Linked DNA regions of Homo sapiens: region 1 is linked to region 2. The links are contacts of gene promoters, found by promoter capture Hi-C in blood cells and fetal thymus (Javierre and others, 2016). All regions are on one chromosome and are shown on one strand. Each heading gives the region's core, a stretch centred on a gene start or on the middle of the fragment in contact. The rest is flanking DNA. Distances are from core to core; before and after follow the strand shown. Region 1 overlaps UNCX (UNC homeobox). Region 2 holds the start of INTS1 (integrator complex subunit 1).

Evidence for each region. The method cuts DNA at HindIII sites, captures the fragments that hold promoters and counts their contacts. A CHiCAGO score of 5 or more calls a contact.
Region 1: a contact is called between a fragment that was not itself captured here and the fragment with the promoter of INTS1 in region 2, in 1 of 17 cell types (endothelial precursors). The highest score is 5.1, in endothelial precursors.

Annotation. Positions count from the first base shown.
Region 1 is chr7:1,234,022-1,238,687 of GRCh38, reverse strand. It overlaps UNCX (UNC homeobox), which reads right to left. Exons shown (of 3, transcript NM_001080461.3): 3 at 1,362-2,856. The coding sequence ends at 1,711. Among named protein-coding and RNA genes, the nearest start is that of UNCX, 3.5 kb to the right of the region's middle. RefSeq lists enhancers at 3,266-4,094, 4,267-4,666. The HindIII fragment of the contact is 5,643 bases long and covers 1-4,450 here.
Region 2 is chr7:1,501,521-1,506,192 of GRCh38, reverse strand. INTS1 (integrator complex subunit 1) reads left to right here and starts at 1,804. Exons shown (of 48, transcript NM_001080453.3): 1 at 1,804-1,870; 2 at 2,192-2,290; 3 at 3,002-3,292. The coding sequence starts at 2,233. RefSeq lists enhancers at 1-115, 301-490, 116-712 and a silencer at 1,599-2,158. The HindIII fragment of the contact is 9,546 bases long and covers 1-3,795 here.

The DNA of each region.
Region 1 (4,666 bases), core at 380-2,879, 270 kb after region 2:
TCTCCTTCCCGTGGATCCCGCCCCCTCCCCTGCTCTTCCTTCCCCCTCTCACTTTTCTTTTGATCTAATTATTTTTCCTATAAGCTCGGTCTCCTAGAGAGCAAATATCAGAGTCACTGAGCGAAAATTATGTAAATATTATTAAAGGGACTCGGGCTCCGAAATTCATTTGCGCCCGCGCGAGGAGGAAAGCTGTCCTTCAGATTATTTTCAATTTATTTGCAAATAAAGGCCTGATGACCAGGAGGGATCAGGGATATTTAACGAGGCTGTAAACATAATTCCACTGTGCTCAGCCTCGTTGGAATTAATGGTTTTAATAATTGGGATCCCAATTTCTCGGGGAATTGGTGGCTTTTGCGGCAACGAGGACCCAGGGCCCAGGAAAATTGAGGCCAGTGGGTTGGGGTTTTTGGGGGGGTGGGGGGAGATGGAGGACGGGTGGCGGTTCACTTTGGGATGGGGCGGCTGCGGGCAGGGGCGGGGGCGCGGGGCTGGCTGCAGGCTCCAGCCAAGTTTGCTAATATTTCTTCGCTGCAGATGTCCTGAAGTCCCCGAAGGGTCCCCTGGGGACCCGGACCCTATTAGAACAAATGTGCACGGCTTTTGTAAAGAGTCGCGTTGGCGGCGCCTGTCCTATTACAGGCGACACATGATCAATAGGCTGATAACGCAGCAACATCAATATAAGCGACAGAACAATGAGGGATATCATTGGGCATCTATCTTAATATAGCCGGCTACAAGAGCGCTGACAAAGAGTGCAGCTCATGAAAATTCCGCCCCACGATTCCCCATCTCCGCTCCAATATGCGCACGCACTCCCCCAGCTGCCGGCGCTATTATTCTCCAATTTCAATTTGACACCCCAGCCTTTCATGCTAATTCTATTATTGTAGGAAGTTTATGTGATTCCATATCACTAGAAATCGGTAATGTATAATAACCCTTTGGGCAAGAAACCCAGTCCCCGCAGCAGCCACCGGAAAATAATTACTTTCATATCAAAACTCTGCAGGAGCCCAGCGGCCCGGCCCTCGCAGCCCCCGGCTCCGTCACCCCGCGCCGCGCGCCCCGGCGTGTGCCAGTGCGCGCGGGGGCGCGCGGCGGATGTGAGCGTGCGTGTGCGGCGCGGGGTAGGAGGGGGAGCGCCGGGGCGGGCGGGGACCGGGAGCCGCAGATGCATAAATGTGTTGAATCAGAAAACACAGACACACACGCACACAAAAGGACGCATTAAGCGCAGACCCCCGGGAAGTGCGGGGCCCCCTCCGGGCCCCACCCGCGGAGAGAGGCGTGGAAAGGTGGGAAGGGCGGCGGGGCTGGGCGCTTGGCAAATTTAAAAAGATGGACCTGAAAACTTGCGTTTGACCAGCTTTATTTATCAAAAATGGTACATATATAAATATTCTTAGACATTTTTGCATTTTACAAGGCTGAGGATTCTCGTTGTGGGGTTTTTTGGGGGCCATGGGTCCTTTTTGCTCTCTTGGGAGGAGGAGGGTCTCACCCCCAGTCCTGTGGTTGCTGCCTGGGTCCGAATTCATACAGCACTTTCGTTTACTCTTAAAAAAAATAATAAAAGAAAGAAAACAAAAGAAAAGAAGGGAAAGCAGTGTTTCTAGAGCCGATCACCTGATTCGTTGCGTGAGTCGGAGCCTGAGCGAGCGGCCGCGGGCCGGCTACGCGCCTCTCCCGGCCGCCGCGGCCTCAGTCCATGTCCAGCTCCTCGCCCTCCGGCGGGCTGGGTCCGGCCGCCGCGCCAGGCTCGGGAACCCCGCAGGTGGCCGGCTCCTCGGCGGGGCTGGGAGGCCGAGGGCCGGGCCTGGGCGACGGCGCGGGCGGCGGGGGCGCGGGGCCGGCGGTCCCCGCGTCCGCGCAGTCCCCGCCGCCGCCCTCGGTAGCCGCTGCCGAGGCGAGGTCCCGGAAAGGCGCCGGGGCCGGGGCTGGGGCCCCCGGGGAGGCGACGGCGTCGGGGCTGCGACGCGCGAAGGCCGAGTCCGGGGCGCCGCCGGGCCCCGAGAAGGCCCCGAAACTGGCCTGGGCAGGCGGCGCGGGCGGCACGGCGGGCGCGGGCGGCGCGTCCTTGGGCGCCGGCTCCAGGCCCGCGCCGCCCTTGAGCGCGGCCTGCGGCACCAGGAAGCCGAGCGGCTGCGTGATGGGGTAGAGGAGGAAGTGGCCCTTGCCGATCAGGGTCCGCGGCGCGCACGGCAGCCCGGGCGCGAAGTCCAGCCCCGCGGCGGCGGCGGCGGCGGCGTTGGAAGCGGCTTTCCGGCGCGGCGGCGAGTCGGACAGGAGGCTCTCCACGCTGAATGGGCTGGCCTTGGGCAGCCCCGCGGCGCCGCGCTCCACCGCCGCCACAGCGGCCCCTGGCCCGCACGAGGCCGCGTCCTTGTCCGCAGGGCGACCTGGGCGCGGCTGTGGGCCGGCGCCGCTTCTTTGGCTCGGGTAGAAGGCGGGGTCGCAGGTGCCGGGTGCAGGCGGCTCGCCGGGAGGGGCGGGCGCGGTCCCCGCGGCGCCCGAGGCGTGCGCTCCGGGGCCCTTGGCGGCGGGCGGCGGCGGCTCGGGCGGCTCCGGAGACAGGCCGCCGCCGCCGCTGTCGCTGTCGGAGCTGGGCGCGCTGTGCAGGGACAGGCCGCCGGGCGAGTGCAAGTGGCGGCCCTGGCTCTTCAGCAGCTTCTTCTCGTGCTTGCGCTTCTTCTTCTCCATCTTCTCCAGCTCCTTGCGCGCGATCTCCTCCGGGTCCATGGGCTCGCCGCTGCACGTGGTCGGGTGCGAGTTGTGCGCCGGCCGCCCCGGGCCCTTTTTCGTGTTCTCCTTCTTCCTCCACTTGGCCCGGCGGTTTTGGAACCAGACCTAGAGCAGCCGGATAGGGGAGAGGAAGCCACAATCAGGCGGCGGGCTGGCCGCCGGGGCCGAGGACCTCCCCGCTCCCCCCAGAGGGGCCTGCACAACCTCCGCTCGGCCGGGGCAGGAGTGAAGCCGCGCGGCCGAGCGGGCCCTGAGCTGGGCTTTGCCACTGGAGCTGCAGGTTCCAGCGAGCGCCTTTTCCACCCGGAAGGCGCGTAGACGGGGCCTCTCGGCCAGCTTCCCGCTCTGGCTTCTCACCTCGGGGACCTGGGAGCCGCCCCTTACTTGGGGGGCCGGTCTGGCCCCGGACGGAGAGCGTCGGGTTCCTGGTCCGGAGGCTAGAGAGCAAGGCCCCTGTTCACCCTTCCTGGCCGCTCACGGCTCGTGTTCTAAGCAGCCCGCCCGGCCTGGCGCTGACCATCCTGCCGTTGGACCGCTGAGCCACAGCCGCCCTCCACACCTGTCTTCGGCCCCTTGGAGACTGTGTCAAAGCCCACATTTCGGGGGTGGGGGCGGAATCCCTTGAAGGGAAATATGGGTGCTTCTCGTCCGGAAGGGCCTGGGGAGCCGTACTTGGGTGGGCCTCTGCAGCCTCCCTCCCAGGGCACAGCTAACACAGCCTTCTTTCCGCAAACCCTGGGCCAGGGCGCCAACGGAGCCTTCCCAAACCTGCGGTCCTTGGCCTGGGCCACCGGCCAAGGCAGGTGGGGAGGCAAGAGGCGACCACCAGGCCGGAAGGAGAGGCTGGGCCCATCGCGTCTCTTCCATCCTCTCTGCAGTCCTTGTCCTGGGGAGCCACACAGGACATCCGGGGACGGCAGCGCTACACCCTCACTCAACCGCCAGCCACCAAACACACACAGTCAAATCCGTCTGAGCCCCGCGGAAGCTCGGGCAGTCCTGCCCTCCCCAGGAGGGCGCGTTAATACGGATTCTTTGTCGCGGCCACACAGAGACTTGCACAATAGCAGGCCCAGCCTTGTCGCAGGGAGCCTTGTCCATGGGGAGGTCTCCAGCATGAAGCCGAGCCCTCCCCCAACGCTGTAACCGCCTTTTCCTTCTTTAAACTTTTTTTTTTTTTTTTTTTGGTGCGAATTCCGGACTGCCTTGCCTGTAAGAATTAGTCATTATCGTATTAGGGGAGACATGGAGGGGTCTTGACTTCACTTAAGACACTTAGAACAAATTGGATGAAAGGATTTCCAAGCAGAAGAGGTCATGAGAGGAGGTCCAAGCGCAGGACAAACACACCTTTTTAGACAAAGCTATTGGTGATAAACAGGCGTTTTGCCAGCGTCTGCCTCAACGCCTAGCACCCACAACCGCACACCGCACCACAGACCTGGACCCCACACCGCACCCACCGCAGAAAAAGAGGATTTCTTTGCTCCAGGGAAACATTTAATTATGCACAAATCATCTTGGAATTTTTAATCCACCAAGCTGACACTGTATTTTTAAAACAATACCATCAGCCATCTCCAAATGATAGCAAATTTACGGGAAAACAGTCGTAAGAAAAAGATGAGACCGGGGTTATTATTAAAAATTCAGACACCTTTTTTTCTCCCACTTTCTCAATGTGTTAACTGTTTAAGCTTCTGCCTCCCCTTCCTCAGCTGTTCCCTTCTGCAAAGCGATGAATAAATACATGTTTCCATCTGAATATTTTGCAGGCGCAAGGTAAACAGACTCGTTCGCTCCAGGCTGGGTGACAGAGCCTCGCGCGGAAGGTTGAGGCGGTGCGGGGGCGGGGGGGGGTCCCCTTCCCTCTCTCCTCCGGGTCGGAGCCAAGCCGGCCCCTCCTCCCCTCCTC
Region 2 (4,672 bases), core at 555-3,054:
GGGCACCACGGACGTCTCCTTCCGGACTCGCTGCCCACACAGCGCAGGGTGCAGGGCCCTGGAGCCCTTGGGGTCCTGCGGGGACCCAGCTGGTGCCCACAGGAGTGGAAAGAGACCGTGGCGGGTCACACAGCAGTTCTCAGGCTGCAGCCTGGGGCCATGAGCCTCACTGAGGCCACAGTCAAATGGCCACACCCAACTTCAGGGGCACAGGGAGACCAGCTCTGCCTTGCGGTCCCTGGATGAGGAGATGGGACACACCGGGCAGGCGGTGCTCAGGACTCCCTCGGTGGCGGGGCAGCGTTCGAGTCAGTGCCCTGCTGGGAACAGATCTCCAAGATGTGGTTAAGTGGCAAAAGCCAGGTGCAGAAAAGAGGAGCCGTGCGCTACCTGCAGGGTGACAAGGCAGAGGGAGGCACACGGGTGGCTGCCTGAACGCACACGGAAAAGCCGGGAACACAGGCACAAATCAGAACACAGGCTGACTCCAGGGGAGGGGACCAGCTGCTCAGGGGTCAGGGGAGACCTTCGACCCTTTGACTGGATGATTCCCCCACCTTTTATTTTTATTTTTTTTTAGACAGGGTCTCGCTCTGTCGGCCGGCTGCAGCGTAGTGGCACCATCATAGCTTACTGCAGCCTTGACCTCCCAAGCTGAAGAGATCCTCCTACCTCAGCCTCCTCAGTAGCTGGGACCGTAGGCATGCACCACCATGCCTGGCTAATTTATTCTTGATTTTTGTTTGTAGAGATAGGGTCTCACTATGTTGCCCAGGCTGGTCTCAGACTCCCACTTTGGCCTCCCAAAGGGCTGGGATTAGAGGTTCATGCCACCATGCCCAGCTAATTTTTATTTTTTTGTAGAGATGGGGGTCTTGCTATGTTGCTCAGGCTGGTCTCGAACTCAACCGATCCTCCTGCCTTGGTCTCCCAAAGTGCTGAGATTACAGGCATGAGCATCACACCTGGCAACTGTATGATCTTTTGTGTCTTTTGAGTTTTGTTCCCATCAGTGTTTCCATTAAAAAAAAAAAAAAAAAGGCGTGGGGGCGGGGCGGGCGCAGTAATTCCAGCACTTTGGGAGGCCAAGGCGGGCGGACCACCTGAGGTCAGGAGTTCGAGACCAGCCTGGCCAACATGGTGAAACCCCGTCTCTACTAAAAACACAAAAAAATTAGCCAGACATGGTGGCGGGCGCCTGTAATCCCAGCTACTCGGGAGACTGAGGCAGGAGAATCGCTTGAACCTGGGAGGTGGAGGTTGCAATAAGCCGAGGTCGCGCCACTGCATTCCAGCCTGGGCGACAGAGCGAGACTCCGTGCCAAAAAAAAAAAGAAAAAAGAAAAGGGTGAACTTTGTGGAACACGAGTTCTATCTCAATAAAGCTATTATTATTATTATTATTATTATTTGAGACAGGGTCTCTCCCCGGGAGCCCCCCGGGCTGCGCCCCCTCGCCAGTGCCTGCGCCCCGGCCGCCCCCGCTCTCCGGGACGTGCAGAACCTGCCACTTGACTCATCCGCGGATCCCTGACGCCACTCCTCCCCGCCGTGCGTCCTGGAGTGCGTCCCTTCGCAACGCCAGCACCACCTGTGAATGGAGAGGCCAGCGCCTGCCCCGCGCCGCCGACCCACCTGGACCGGACCACATGCGCGCGGCGCCGGCCAGCCCGCCTCCCGCCGCCATGGGGCGCTGCAGGCATCAGGCCGGCGCCGCGGGCCTCTCGCGCCTCCTTCTGGGCCCGCTTCCCGCCGCACTGTTTTCCTTCCGGTTGTTCCGGAAGTCGGGTCCTCGAGGGCGGTGAGATCGGTTTCCGATTCCGGGGTGGCCGGGTGGCGGCGGCGGCGCTCCGGTCGCGATGGGCCAGAGGTAAGTGAGCCGCGGCCTGGGCGCTTCCTCATTGCCGGGCGAGCGCCTGGTTCTCCCGGCTACCGCTCCCGGCCTCTGGGCCGTCCCTTCTGGTTCTGCCGCCTCCAGCCCGGCGTCCGCGTCGCCTGCTGCCGCCCGACTGAGCCGCTCCCGGGCGGCTGGGAGGCGGGGTCCCTGCAGCTCCTGCAGCATCGCCCCGCCGGGCGGGCGCGGGACCACTGTCCCCGGGTCCCAGGCCCAAGCCCCGTGCGGCAAGGGAGCGAATGAGCGAGCGAACGAGCGAATGAGTGAAGGAATGACCGCACGCTGGCTCCTCCGCAGGTGACGCCGCAGCCGCCGGGAGCCGCGAGGGACGGGGCAGGATGAACCGGGCCAAGCCCACCACGGTGCGCCGGCCCAGCGCCGCGGCCAAACCCTCAGGTGCGTCTCCCTCCTCGCTCTGCAGCCCGGGGGTCTTTGGGGGTCTTTGGGGGTCTTTGGGGATCTCAGCTGCCGCGGATCCTGCGTTGGGCTTGGTTGTTCCGCAGCCGCGGCTGTTTCCAGGAATTCGGTCTGGAAACACTGCTCTCGGTCCTCAGCGGCTCTGAGAGTCCCTGGGAGGCTTGGGACAGTGGCGACTTCCTTCGGGACCCCGGTGATCTCGTTTCAGGCTGAGCTGCAAGGCGGCCGACAGTAGCGGAAGGTCTCCCCAGCCAGGAGGCGGGAGGCAGCACAGTGTAGCGTAGCACGGGGTCTGCGGCTGAACTGTCGGCTCAGATCCTCCGGACTTTGCCACTCGCCTGCTGTGTGACGCTGGGCACGTCGCTTAACCTCTCTGTGTCCCTTTCTCTCTTGTAAAGTTAGAGTAATAGCACCTATTGCGGAAACTCGGGGCGGGGGTTACTAAGCACACTAATTTGGATAGACCAGAGATGGCCTGGTTTGTGGTTAGCGCTACGTGACTGTCCACCATCACCTGTGCGTATCCTGCTGGTCCCAGCTCTGCTGTAGGCTGCTGAGTGAGCTCTGGCTTCTTCCTTGCCTCCTCTGACCCTTGTTTAATCCCCTCTGACATAACAGGAGGTTAGAGTCAGTCTTTTTCCATCTTGGGTGTTGCAAATGTGCCCGGTTTTCTCTCTCCTTTCTCTGCAGGGCACCCTCCCCCAGGAGACTTCATTGCTCTGGGCTCAAAGGGTCAGGCCAATGAATCGAAAACGGCGTCCACCCTGCTGAAGCCAGCCCCTTCCGGCCTGCCTTCTGAGCGCAAGCGGGATGCGGCGGCCGCGTTGTCCAGTGCCTCGGCCCTCACCGGTCTCACCAAACGCCCCAAACTCTCCTCCACACCCCCTCTGAGTGCCCTGGGGCGCCTGGCTGAGGCTGCAGTGGCAGAAAAACGAGCCATTTCTCCGTCGATTAAAGAGCCATCTGTGGTGCCAATTGAAGGTAATGAGTCTGTGGACATCCCCCGAGAACACCCCTCAGCTCATGCCGTCCATCAGGTGTTCAGGGAAGGCCCCCTCCAGGCCTAGTGCTGCCCGTATGGCCGAGGTCCTTTGGGAGAGCGGATGTTTGTGGCTTGTTCTTGGAAGTGCTTCTCACGTAGATGCCCTTATCCCGTGTGTGCATCTGCGTCCTGCACTGCCAGTGGCTGCCCTTTGAGAACCGGGTCACTCCCTTATTGAGTTGTTTGTCTCATGTGTCTGTTGGACGCCCCCTTTGTGACGGGCACTGTCTGAGCCCTGGGGGTAAACCGGGCGTGACGACACCCCAGGTGTCTGTTCTCAAGGTTGCCCATCCTGGTGCGTTCCTCTCTCAACCTGAGCGGAGGCGATGTGTACTTGGTTCCTCCTTCCCTCCTGGTTACCAACAGAGAAGAGTTGATCCCCTCCCTGTTTTCAGTTGAAAAGCAGCAGAACAGTAAGGACATCAACGGGGGAATGTAAGCTTCACCACTGTCCCGTTCTCGCAGAAATGCCTTTAACTGTGTGCCTAGAATCGCCCCTGCCCCTCTGCGCCATTTTCCCAACGACCATTTCTCAAGGCTCCGTGACTCCCTGGGAGTCGCTCTGGCAGCTATCGCACCAGCCCCAGCAAGCCTCATGGTCTGCAGTGTTTTGTTTCTGTGGGAGCATCTCTTTTGGGTAATTTCTTTGTAGGAGTCAAAAAGAACAAGTGTCCTGATGACTTTGGTAGTGAGGTGTCTGTTCAAGCCGCGCCACCTCTGGTTACTGAGTTTTGTGCCAGACAGGACCCAGGGGACTTGTGGGCTGTGGCCTTGCCCTCAGGGAGGGACCAGGCTGCTGCAGTGCAAGCCTGTGAGTGAGTCCCCGACGGCCCTGGAAGGGAGGAGGCCTGGCAGGGAGTTGCAGTATGGGCTTGGGCCTGGAAGCACAGGCGATGAAACCGGGGCAGGCAGGAAAGGGAGATGCCAAGCAGAGAATGGACTGTGCCCAGGGAATGGAGGCCTGGCCTGGCCTGGGCAGCACACGCTCATGAGAGCTGAGGCTGGGCGCTGTGGGCAGTGTTTGTGCTGGACTCAGTTGGCATCAGGGAGCCCTGGGGGCAAACGGCCCAGGATGGCACAGCTGGGGGACTGCTTTAGGAGGTCGAGCCTCAGACCTCCCATGAGGCGTGTCCCTGGGCAGCTGGTGCCGGTGGGGATTGAAGACAGAGACCACAGGCCTCATCCTGGCCCGGGCTCTCGGCCGCCGGCGGCTCGGTGCTTTATTTATCTTTAGCACTACCTCCTGTAGAAAGGAGGTTTTGAAGATGAGAGGAGACGTGGTTATGAAAAGCGTATTCTGAGTGGTAGATCACTTTATA